Linked DNA regions of Homo sapiens: regions 1, 2 and 4 are each linked to region 3. Evidence: promoter capture Hi-C in human tissues and cell types (Jung and others, 2019). All regions are on one chromosome and are shown on one strand. Each heading gives the region's core, a stretch centred on a gene start or on the middle of the fragment in contact. The rest is flanking DNA. Distances are from core to core; before and after follow the strand shown. Region 1 has its middle 180 kb from the start of LINC02550. Region 2 has its middle 140 kb from the start of ARHGAP20. Region 3 holds the start of ARHGAP20 (Rho GTPase activating protein 20). Region 4 has its middle 190 kb from the start of ARHGAP20.

Region 1 (3,002 bases), core at 99-2,598, 210 kb after region 3:
CCAGGAGTTCAAGACCATCTTGCCCAACATGGTAAAATCCCGTCTCTACTAAAAAATAAATACAAAAAATTAGCTGGATGTAGTGGCACACACCTGAAGTCCCAGCTACTTGGGAGGCTGAGGCATGAGGATCAGTTGAACCTGGGAGGTGGAGGTTGCAATGAGCCAAGATCGTGCTACTGCACTCCAGCCTGGGTGACAGCACTAGACTCTGTCTCAAAACAAAGTAAAATAAAATAAAATAAGTAAGTTCTAGACACCTAATGTTCAGCAAGGTGCCTATAGCCAATAATAATCTATTGTATACTAAGAGAGTAGATCTTAAGTATTTGCACCACACACACAAAAGGTAACTATGTAAGGTTATGTGTATGCTAATTAGCTTGAGTGTGGAAATCATTTCACAGTGTATACATATATCAAAACATTATGTTGTTTACCTTGAATATATACAATTTTTGTTTTTCAATTATACCTCAATACAGTTGAAAAAAAGATTGATTCTATTTGCCTTTATAGTGAGAATTTCTTACAATCTTGGCATTTTTTTTTCTCTTAAGGCCTATACTGTCACAATCAAGACTTGTCTCTGCAAATGTGAAGATCAATCTAGATGTAAGACTAGCATGTATCTGGGGCAAATTGATAACAATTTTTCCATGGCCAAGGAATATACAAATACTTGAGTATAAAACCACAAGTTACCCACTGGTACAGGGCTTATGCTCAGAGAATCAATGATAATAATTCCTACACACCATCTAACTCCTTACTTTCTGCATACATCCTTCTTTGTTTCTTCATTTCAGAATGTCCAGGTCTCAACTTCAAGCAAAAGAAGCCAAAAGTAAACAGTCAACAATGGGTCCAAATCAGTGGCAAATACTCTAGAAATCAAGACAGAAACCCTCTCTCCTCCACCTCTTCCCAGAGTGCCAGAACGGGGCCAGACTTGCAAGTCCTAGGAGGAGGAGCCCTTCCTTTCAGGATATTTGCCAAGCATTCTTGTCTCTCTGAATTGTAACTGGTATCGTTTTGGGCACAGGAAGGACATAGAAGGGTTAAGTAATGTGCCAGATGTAACAGAATAGGGAAAAAATAAGTTATCTTTCTGGAATTTGATCTGCAGTAAAAGCCAGTCTGGTGGAGGCTGTGCCTGTCCTTTTTTCTTTCAGTAGTAGGGTTTTTAACCCAATTATCCAGACTTTTTTTTCAGCTCTTTGTTTTATTTTACTTGTACAATTAGTCTTCAAGTTGATTTGAAAACAACAACAAAAAACAAAATGTAACTTTGAAAGATGTGGAAAGTTAATATTCTCCTGCGAGGCTTTAAAGGACCACCAAAGTTAGCACATACTTAGCATTTGAATATAGGCCCTGCACTCACTGCCTCCAGTAATAATTTGCTTCAGATAACTTTGCTATTGGAGTGTGTTTTGGGATAGGTGCTCCGACACCTCTTAAGGCAAATTCCAAACTCTTCTGGAAAGTATTTTTGTAAAAGAGAAACAGTCATAAGGAAGGATTACCAAGGGGAATTTTGGAAACCAGCCACACAATTAGACAACTTTTCTTCTCCAAGGACCTGTAACTTCTGCTCAGTTTTAGTATTTATATGGACATAGCCCTTGCACTCTGACATTTTTAGAAGAAATTACACTGTGCCAGAGATCTGGGATCAGTGACAACCACAATGGTCTCCTTGGAAAGCAAAAATGCTCCCAGGAAAAGTCAAGTCACTTACCCGTTAATCAAACTGCCAGTCACTTCTCACAAGTAAGACTGCTAAATGGATAGGAAAATACCACCTTTGTTCTAAATTTAGGAGATGAAGGAGGACAAGGGAGAGGAGAAGGAAAGATGATAAAGAGGGAGGAGGTGGAGAGGAGAGGAGAGAAGAGAAGGATTATGACAAAGAAAACTCCAGCTAGGTAAAGGGAGACAGAGCTGAAAGGAAAGAAGTATCAATGTAGAATGGACAGTCAAAGGAATCGGACAGTAGAGTATCTGGTAGGTAACAGTAGGGAGAGACAATGGCTATTTTAAGTCACATCTCAAGCTGAGTTGAGTTCAAATTCTGATTCCACTTCTTTCCAGCTGAGTGATCCTGGGCTTGTTCTTTAAGCTTTCTGAACTTCAGTTTCCTCATGTGTAAAATGAGTTTTACTATCTTCACCTTGCCATGCTGTTAGCAGGATCAAAATTATGTGTATAAATCCTTGCTCATTACAGTTCCTATACCATGGTATCTTGGCTGAGAACAAACCCTTTGTCTTTCTTAAGACTGATTAGCCTGGAATGTTCTAAGCTAACCTGCTGTGTTCTTGGGTAATTTAGTTGTCTTGATGGAAGCCAGAGGATAAGACCACACCCCTGAGAGTGGAGGTGGAGCTTCTCTGAGGGAAATGGAAATCACAGCTGACATCTACCCTTGGTGAAGGCTAGGTCAATCCTGGGACAGGAAATCAAGACTGTGGAGGTGGGCAAGGATTGCAGGGAGTACGTCTTCCTCTGTGGAGGTGGAGGTTGGTCTTAAGCCTTTCTTTAGGAGACACACTGTTGGGTATTTTCCCTGGAGAGAAGAAAGACGATTCCTTCAAGATGGTGGCCAGCTGAGAGAAAGTCAGGAAGAGCTTGCTCAGGACCTGCTGGGCCCAGCAGCTCTGAACATCACACAACAGTAAGTCTGTTTTGTGCTTTCCTTCTGCCATCCCTGACTTTCAGTGAAGGTTTTCAAAGAATTGCAGCCTACTCTCCACCATCCTTGTGGGTAAATGAGCCTAAGGGAAGGATCAAGGGGAACAGGTGAAGGTAACTGAGGCCAGAGAGAAGCTGGTCTCCAGAGGCAGGAGGGGCGTGCATAGATGTCCGTGGGAAGCAGAGGGCAGCATTCCAGGGCCTGAGCAGTTGATGACAACTGGGTGGACTGAAGGGGACATGTTCACCTGCTCCAGGGAGCCCAAAAGATAGGGAGGACATTCTGATAAACACTGGGCTTTATG
Region 2 (3,026 bases), core at 293-2,792, 140 kb after region 3:
CTGTATGCCCTTTTACCTTAGATTGGAGTTCTCTACCTCTCCTCTGTTTGCTTTGTAGGCTTTATCTACTGATTCCCAATATCAGGGAAGAAACTAATGATTTGAATGTTGACCCCTCTTTCCAAGAAGTTGGAGTGCCTTGATCCTAATAGGAGATGATTTATTAGCTCCACGCTTAAAACAGGCCACTGAAGAAAACCTCCCCTCCTGCCCCAGAATGAACCCTTCTAATCTGTGGTAAGGGTCACATATGGAGATTCAATCATCTCATCTCCCCTGATTTCCCTCAGCAGCTTTCCATGAGATGTGGGGTTTTTGTAGAGATTGTGAGATAGGGCAGTGATGGGGCTAAATGGGGAGGGGTTGTGGAAAGTAAATCAAAGCATAATTCTTACATGCCCGGGCTAGAGATAATTGCATTGTGTGTTCTCTGACGGTTGGTGGGAGTCATGAGATCAGCAAAATTCCTGAAAATTCTTGTGGCCAGATTGATATCTGTATTCTTTACGTTATTCCATCATCCCAAGTCACAGCTCTGTGTGTGTGTGTGTCTCTCTGTGTGTGTGTGAGACAGAGAGAGAGAGAGAATAAGAGAATTCAAGATCCCACAAGAGTAAATGAATGGATTTGAAGAGAATTTAAATGAATCAAGGTATCTTAACTTACCTTTGCAGTAGATAGTTTTTTTACACCTATGTTAGAGATAATCCAAGAACAAAGGACAAGGCTCCTCTAATGAAATATATCCCTTATCTCTCCAAATCATGCTCCTCAGAAGAGTCACTGGTATTTGAGGAGCTTGCATTAGTAAAAAGAAAAGGTGTCTCTCATGGGTGGCAGGATGGATCTGAGAAGCTCCGGGATCATGGATGTCTGAAAGAGTGTCAGAAAGGGGCAGCTGATCACAGTGCACCTTAGGAAGCTTCCTTTGGTACAGATTCAAGGACACACTGAAGACAGAGAACCTATTTCTGATGCTAATATAGTGACCTAGGGAAAAAAATACAAAGGATTTAATTAAACTGGAGCATGGGAGGAAGAAAATAAACATAAGAAACACTGAGAAATAGAACAGGCAGAAATTGACAGTGTGGGATGAGTATAGCAGATCCAGCACTTATATTCTTCTCTTCTTATTCCCAATAAATTCTCAATTTTGTTTAGAAATGCACTCCCAGTCGCTTGAACTGGGGAGGCAGAGCTTGCAGTGAGCCAAGATCATGCCACTGCCCTTCAGCCTGGGCAACAGAGTGAGATCCCATCTCAAAAAAAAAATGCATTCCTTCTCCACATAATTCTGGGTTTCAGGAGAAGGAAGTAGACTCCCTTCTAAGTACCTGTCGATAGATTCTAGTTATCTTATAAGTCAATTGTGCCTTCTCCGGGGATTGGTTTAGAGGTGGGCCTGTGTCCGCTTCTAGCCAGAGTGATGTGAGGTAACCTGTTCTTATCCTCATAAGGTTATTGTGAGGACCTGGTCAGATAACGCATATGAAGTGTTTGTCATTAACAGGCACTGAGTACATTTTGGCTGTCTAGTGTCTCAATTCAGTATCTGTCATGTGGGTCCAGGAAAGTGGTTTTTCCCGAACCATAGCTACTAGCCTGTCGGTGTAGACCTTAGCTTTCGCACATTGCTATACAGAATAAGGGATGGATAAAGACTGAACTGAAATGAACCAAACGTGAGAGAGCACAGAAGGATGAAGGTGGTGGTTGCATGTGGGGAGGGAATTGGCTGGCTGTGTTAGGAGGAGGGCTAAGTATTTTGGTAAAGCCTTAGTTTAACAGGGTGGTATAGTATCAGATGGGATAAACTGCAGGCTGTTTTAAAAGGGAGAAATTGAGTTAACCACCTATTTCTTCTTGTTACTACAAGCACCATATTTGAGTGGTTTTAATAGTAGTTTTATGTGCCAGATTTGTTGGCATTGGGAAGCATAAAGGAAGGGGCCATAAGAATACTAAGCCTCGGGCAGGTTATGGTGGCTCATGCCTGTAATCCCAGCACTTTGGTAGGCCAAGGCAGGTGGATCACGAGGTCAGGAGTTCCAGACCAGCCTGGCCAGAATGGTGAAACCCCGTCTCTACTAAAAATACAAAAATTAGCTGGGTGTGATGGTGGGAGCCTGTAATCCCAGCTACTCAGGGGGCTGAGGCAGGAGAATCATTTGAACTCAGGAGGCGGAGGTTGTAGCAAGCTGAGATCGCATCATTGCACTCCAGCCTGGGCGACAGAGCGAGACTCCGTCTCAAAAAAAAAAAAAAAAAAAAAAGAAAGAAAGAAAGAATAGTAAGCCTCACATTTTTTGGTTGTTACAAATCAGGGATTAAGAGACTTGGGATTTGAGTTCTGTCTAATAGCCTCTAAATCTGTCAACTAAGTGAGAAGCAAAATCACGTAACTGCTTAACATCATGTAAGAAAAGCAACTTGGTATCCTTGTTCAATTAGATGGGTGGCTGTGATGTTGCATAGGACCAACTTCAGTCTTCCTTGTTACTGCAGGAGCCCAGTTGTCCATGTTTGTAATCATGTGACATGCAAAGAGCTGGGTACTAGAAGAAAGGCTAGCTATGTGGCAATAAGCAGGGATCTGAGGGAGGCCCTGATTTCCTGTTTTTGTTTAAATCACTCATGTCCAGTCTTCTCATAGGCCATCTCAATGCCAAAAGAAGCCCCAGTAGATACTAAACATCCAATGAAACTGCAATAAATAGGAATTGACCTCATTTGCTTATTGCTTCAGTGTAGAATTTCTGGACGTAGAAGAGCAGGCTGAATACTAAAACAAATTAAATGACAATTTTGAATGCCGTAATCATGTATTTCCTGGTTACAAGGGCTTGGGTGTTTTTTTCTGCCAATTGAATAAATCTCATTCTAAAAACACAGATGTGTGTTGGCAGGTCCTGTGCAATCCCAAAACATACAGTTAGAGACTCAAATATAGTTATTTAAATTACCTGATGAAAGCATGAGTCCTTGCCCAGCTCAGCTGTTGTAAAATGCTAACAACATCCGAG
Region 3 (2,936 bases), core at 23-2,522:
GAACCGTTCCAGCGAAACCTGACCCGGATCGGAATCCTCCCGCAGCACAGCGGCCGTGTTTATCGGAATGGAACGCTACAAGTTGTCACCTGCATCCCTCTCCCAGCTTTGACAGGGAACACGCGCTGCCCCCACGCCCACACCGACACCCGGATCCCTATCCAGCCCGGCCAGAGTCCCAGGGGCCAGGGACCAGTGCAGGGAGAAGGTCCCCCACCTCAGCCCTCAGGACCCCCAACCACAGCCCACCCGCCCCCACCCTGCTCGGTTCTAGGCCCAGCCGAACCTACATGTCCCCGTAGTGTCGAGCGTTATCATCCACAGTCGCCCCTCAAACTGTGACCCCCACCTGGGAGACCCGGAATCATCCAGGACCCTGGTGTGGGGGGCAGTACTCCCCATATCTGCCCCCCGAAAACTGCTATGGAGCAGCCGCGCCTCGGCGGGCAGGTGAGGGGGCCGAGCCCACCAGCGCCGCAGCCCCGCTGCCTACCTTCTTCAGCGCCGGCTGCCGCTCCCGGGCAGACATCGCCGGCCCTGACTTTGGGGCTGACACCGCCAAAGGGCAGTCAGTGCTCGCCCAGGCCACTTCGGGAGGCCCAGGGGCACGGCGAGGGGTCGGGGAAAGGCGATCGCCCACTACAGCCCGCGCGCCTAGACTGAGGGAGGAGCCGGGCTGCAGAACCGGCGGCGGATGGAGACGGGAGGGAGGCTGCGAGGTCGCTCGAGGAGAGACTAAGGCTCTAGAAACGGAGAAGCGGGCGCTCTGCGGGAGGCGGCGGCGCTGCCGCTGGCCGTCAAGGGCGGGAAGTGTTCTGGGACTCTCATTAGGGGCCGCGAGCCTCGAGCGTCAAATTCCCGCGGCGTCCGCCTAGCGCGCTGCTGTGGCGGGCGCGGAGGGCGCGCGCCGGCAGTGGGGGCTGCGGCGGCGGAGGGCACGGGCCCCCGCTCAGCGTCCTCACCTTCTTGGTGCAGCTGCCTCCCGCGAGCCGAGACACTCCTGTCAGGGAAGAGGAGCGCCCCGGCTGTCCCCCTAGAGTCTCCTGCTGGGGGGACATCGCTTCCATGAAGAAAATCTTCAAACAAATCCCAGCCCAGGAGGAGGCTACACGATCATGTCCGCGGGCTGCCGGCCGGAGGGGCGAGGACGCGCGGGCGGAGGCGCGGCTGCCGTGCTCAGGCAGGGAGCCGAGCTCCGGGTGCTCGCCGCGCGCCTCCCGTCGGGGCCATGTACCTCCGCCTGCGCTCGACACCGCGGGCTGGAGGCGAGTGCAGCGGCGACAGCCCGTCAGCGCCGCGGCCCGCCCCGCCTCGGGCCCGCCCCCTCCGCTCCGGGCGCCCTGCGCCGGGGCCCGCCCCCGCAGCCCTCCTCAGCCCTCCTCCAGCCTGGGCCCTCCTAGCCTCGTCCCAGCCTGCGGCGCGCCTGGCGGGCGTCTCTCTATATATGTTAGCACACCGGCCACCGGCTGACCTTTTCGGTCTGTGACTCCGCGTGGGTGCAGCCCGCAGGAGCTCATCGGCCTGTGTCACGCACGGGGGCCTCTAGTGCACGGACACGCGCCTCTCCCGCCACCTGCCCACTCCCACCAGACCCCATCCCTTCCCGCGCCGTGCCCGCGGCGGAAGGCGCCCCTGCAGCGCGTGCATCCGCGGAGCGGTGGCGACCTCAGCCTGAGCAGAGGAGTTGCAGTGATTCCTGCCTCGCTTTCAGCGGACTGCGGAGGGAATCCCCCACCCCACCCCACTGGGGATAGGGTGGCACGTCGCAGAGTGTCGCAGCTGTACAAATTTGGAAGCCCACAGCATCGCCTGACCTCTTGTGCAATCCCGAACGCTAGCCTGTTCGGGTAACCCTGAGTGGGCTTCTGCAGCCGGTCATGTCAGCGGCCCCTGCACATTTGCACCCGCGGTTTCCGCTGTCTGCAGGCTGCAGAGACGGGGGCATTCCAAACGTGAAAGAGCAATGAAGGAAAATGCAGACAGAGCGAGGACGCCGAAATTTGGCTAAGCTATTGAGAAGGCTACAATATGTGGAAGTGTTTATCAGATATCTGCGCCGAGAGCATAACTTCCTGTCAGCCCAAATAGAGGCAAAAATATTTTAAAGGCCAAAGAATAATCAGAGGGAGAGGATTTGGAGCTGACCCGCGTTGAGCTGAGTGTTGCTGCACTTTGCGGGGCTGGTTGACTGGTACGGATGATTCGGTAGATGGCATTCTTCCCTTGGAGTCAGGACTAGAGAAGCAGTGGCGGATTAGTGAGGAAGGACACCACGCTATGATATTAGGTTGTGGAAGGGGTTTGGTTTGCTTTTGTGGTAAGAAGAAAAAAATCGAGGTTCCTGCCAGGTTAGGCTGTTATTAGGACAGGTTGTAGAAGAATAGGGCTCTGGCCGGCTCTGTTCCAAGGAAGGGATGCTGTCCAACACACACTCGCGCGCGCACACATCACCACCATGCCCAGGAATGGTTTATTGTGGAAATAATAGGGGGAAAATGTTCCAGCCCGTTTTAAGCCTTGTCCACCTCACACTGTTTAAAGTAGGCTTACATAGGCTTTATAAATCACACACACGTATAAATCACACACACGTATAAATCACATGTATGATTTGTAAATCATCTATTATTGTGTTTATGTATGTGTGCATATACACACACAGTTTTTCATGGCTACTCTCTTTTTGCAGCTGAGACCCATGTGCAGCGACAGGACTTTGCCCCCACCATAGAGTTTGTCATGAATTCTACACGCAGAGGGCTTTGCAGTTCCTTTCATTCCTTGCTGAAATCATCCACTTACAACTCGTTAGCCTCTTTTGGTTCCTATCATAAATGCACGCTCCCAATTTTCCTTACTCTGTTTTATTTCGATAACACTTATCTCCTTCTAATATATCATGTAATTTACTTAGTATGTTTAGTGTTTATTATCTA
Region 4 (3,215 bases), core at 692-3,191, 190 kb after region 3:
TTCTATATCCAAGTGTTCTTTTCCTACATGCAAGATGTGGGACCAATTCCCAATTTTGCATTCTGATTTAAATGAGAGGAGACATCTTTCATGTCTGAGTCAAGAAGGGCAATACCTCGAAAAAGTAATTTAAGAAAAATGATGATGGCCCAAGAACTCAAATCAATAAATTCCCACACCTCCCCACAAGTCCTGGCTTATTCATTCCAGAAGTAGCACATTTCCAAATGCTCTGGCCAGGTCTGACTGATGTCCTAAAACAGATCAGCTCTAAGCTGTACTTTCTTCAGCCTCTTTTCACCCCAGATCTCTCTTGTTCCAATTTCCCTGTAATGGCAGCCTCCTTGGCTAACATTATTACCATTTATTTCTTTTCAATTTCACCCCATAGCTCAGCAAGAATTGGAAGGAAAGGAGGCTTGAGGTTGCCTCTATTTTAAAACAAACATCTTGGTCCCAGAAAGGTGCAAACCAAATAGAAGGAATTTTTTCAAAAGAGAAAAAGGCAATTCTATTTTCTCAGGGACTTTAAGAAAAATAATAATCTGTGAGTTAGTGTTGTTCATTTGCAATGGAGCAGGAAATAACCAAACAAGGAGTAGAATGAGGATGTTGGTTGGATACTTCTGGGTAAAGTCTTCTGTGTGATTTAATTAACCTGATTGAAGAAAATTAGCAGAATTTTTGTCATTCACCTATTCAAATATAAATATGAAAGTGAAATACTATGTCAACTGTGTTTTGGGCATTATCTCCTTTTTTTTCTTTGATGACCTATGCTAAGACTTTCTACATTGAGGACAACAAAACGGAAGTTTCCTCTAGGGTCATTGGTGAATTTGTCACGTGAATAAGAAAGCCCTTTTTGCTCTCTCCGTACAATAAATAATGCATATTACAAGCTTTACAGGAAACAAATGAGTGCCTTCTAAATAATTGATTTCTATCTTTTTCTTTCTTTCTATGACCTGGAACATTATGACTTTATGTGCACATTTGATGGGTTTCCTCTCAAATATAAAGAAAAATACAATTTTCAAGTAGCTCTTTTAGACATTTGAAGTATGCACAAAAAGGCAAAAATCAGAAGGTAAGAGACTTGAGACAGCCAGTGGGAGGACGGCCTGATTTAAGCAAGCTTCCAAGGTGCTTCTTTTTAAGTCTGTTGTCAATAATTCTGCTTCATATCTCCTTCTTTCCTCTGTCTACTTTGAGAGAAAGGAGTTTGCCTGATCAGTGGGGATTTTTTGTTTGTTTTTTCCTCAACTAATATTTAATTATTAATCATAATGTTTTGGTAGGAGTAGGGGATAATTCATGGGAATTAAAGTTTCTTTTTCTCTCAAGTATTGGCCTATAATTGTAAGGCACTTCATATTTGAAAAGCCTTTCCCCAGAGCCCCATGAAGCATATGTCTGCCTTCCTACCCATATCAGTCCAAATGAGCTAAGTTGTGCTGTGGAAACAAACAACTCTAATATCTCAGGGTCTTAAAGCAGCAAAGTTGTTTGATTGCTTGTGGTCATAGTTCACGAAGGTGACCTACTTATTGTACACACTCAGGACCAGGCTAATAGTGGTGCCATCTTGACAGGTGCTTCCATGATAACAGAGGTAAGAAGAGGCCTGAGGGCATACCCATCATGTCCCCTCCTTTTTCACTGGTCAAAGCAAGTCATAGGGACAACTGAGATATGATTGGGGTCAGAGATTGTAACATCCCCTGAGAAGAGCAGGAAATATTTGTGAACAACAACACTATCCTCCAGGACCCTTTACAGGTAAGGGACTTAAAGCTCAGAGAGACTAAGACAGTGGCCCATGGTCATGCAGATGAATAGAAGGGGAGCTGTGTTTTCTCACCTCAGGGTTGGGTTTGACTGATTCTAGGTACCTGACCTGTATGTGCTGACTCCTCTCACCCTGCTGGAAGAAGCAGGGGACAGCATTACTTGGTTCTGGATATCATTTGCATCTTGTGGCTCAGCAAACCCTTTTATTTTCATGTTAAAATTGATATTTTCTTAGATTCTCTAAGACACACAGGGGTCATGTGGTTATTCGGCTTAATGGAGACTATAAATGTGACTCAAGAGTTACATAACCGAGTAGGCAGCTGTCTAGTCTAATTTCAGAGAGCTGAAAAGACTCCATGCACACGCCCCCACCCCTGTTCCTCCATGCCTGAAGCTCCCCCTAATAGGTACTATTTTTAATAGCTCTCATTAATGGAGGTGCTTATCTGTCAGGAATTGTGCTAAGTGCCTTCCTTTTACAATCTCACCTAATCATAGAAGTTGAGGAGCATTAGTGCCCCATTTAACAGATGAGAAGTTCATGCTTCTTTAACTTCTCAAAGTCCAACAGCCAGGAAGCTATTAAACACTGTGCTTTCTGACTGCCAAGCCTATGCTTTCGACCTCCATGTTTTATTGCTTCCAAAACAGGGGACAAGACTCCACATTTCACAACCACATATAAAATTTCCATGCAGATCGCCTTAGGAGAGAGATGAGGCCTGAGCTAAGTACAAATACGGTCCTTTAAGGACAGCCCAGTTTTAGAAGGGGAAGATTTAGGCAATAGTGGAGGAAGACTCGGAAAGGGATTCTATGGACTTGGAATAGGAGAAAAGTTCCCTGCGTTCATTTCTTAACAAACCAACAAAGTAACACAACCTGGATGGCTTGCAAAGCAGAAATTTATTGTCTCCTGCTTCTGGAGGCTAGAAGTCCAAGATCAAAATGTAGGCAGGATTGGTTCCATCTAAGGGCTGTGAGAGAGAATCTGTTCTAAGCCTGTCCCCTAGCTTCTGGTAGCTGCAGGCATTCCTTGGCCTGGAGATGATGTTCTCACCTTGTCTCTTTATACTGTCTTTCCTCTACACATGTCTGTGTCCCAATTTCCCCTTTTTATACAGATCCCGGTGATAATGGATTAGAGACTCATTCTACTCCAGTATGACCTCATCTTCACTAATCACATCTACAATCACATCTAATCACATCTTTATTTCCAAATAAGGTCACATTCTGAGGTACTAGGAGTTAGTACTTCAATATATAAAACTTAGAGAGACACAACCCAGCCTAGAACAGTCCCCGATAAGGAACTCTCACACCTCTCTATCACAGGACCAAGTTACTGCCAAAGCTTCCCCAGAGGCTGCCTGAAGAGGCCATGACCCAGCCCAGAAGAAATGAGGAGTTGCCTA

What was found. Contacts are between HindIII fragments. The study calls those that stand out against the background at their distance.
Region 1: a contact is called between a fragment that was not itself captured here and the fragment with the promoter of ARHGAP20 in region 3, in 1 of the 25 tissues and cell types used here (IMR-90 fibroblasts).
Region 2: a fragment that was not itself captured here is called in contact with the fragment with the promoter of ARHGAP20 in region 3 in 2 of the 25 tissues and cell types used here (IMR-90 fibroblasts and aorta).
Region 4: a fragment that was not itself captured here is called in contact with the fragment with the promoter of ARHGAP20 in region 3 in 2 of the 25 tissues and cell types used here (bladder and hippocampus).

The regions. Positions count from the first base shown.
Region 1 is chr11:110,916,212-110,919,213 of GRCh38, forward strand. No RefSeq gene overlaps it. Among named protein-coding and RNA genes, the nearest start is that of LINC02550, 180 kb to the right of the region's middle. The HindIII fragment of the contact is 6,942 bases long and covers 1-3,002 here.
Region 2 is chr11:110,850,548-110,853,573 of GRCh38, forward strand. No RefSeq gene overlaps it. Among named protein-coding and RNA genes, the nearest start is that of ARHGAP20, 140 kb to the left of the region's middle. The HindIII fragment of the contact is 3,044 bases long and covers 21-3,026 here.
Region 3 is chr11:110,711,165-110,714,100 of GRCh38, forward strand. ARHGAP20 (Rho GTPase activating protein 20) reads right to left here and starts at 1,273. Exons shown (of 15, transcript NM_001384657.1): 1 at 963-1,273. The coding sequence starts at 1,067. RefSeq lists enhancers at 1-137, 1,120-1,621 and silencers at 1,145-1,204, 1,225-1,384. The HindIII fragment of the contact is 8,017 bases long and covers 1-2,936 here.
Region 4 is chr11:110,899,503-110,902,717 of GRCh38, forward strand. No RefSeq gene overlaps it. Among named protein-coding and RNA genes, the nearest start is that of ARHGAP20, 190 kb to the left of the region's middle. The HindIII fragment of the contact is 5,275 bases long and covers 1-3,215 here.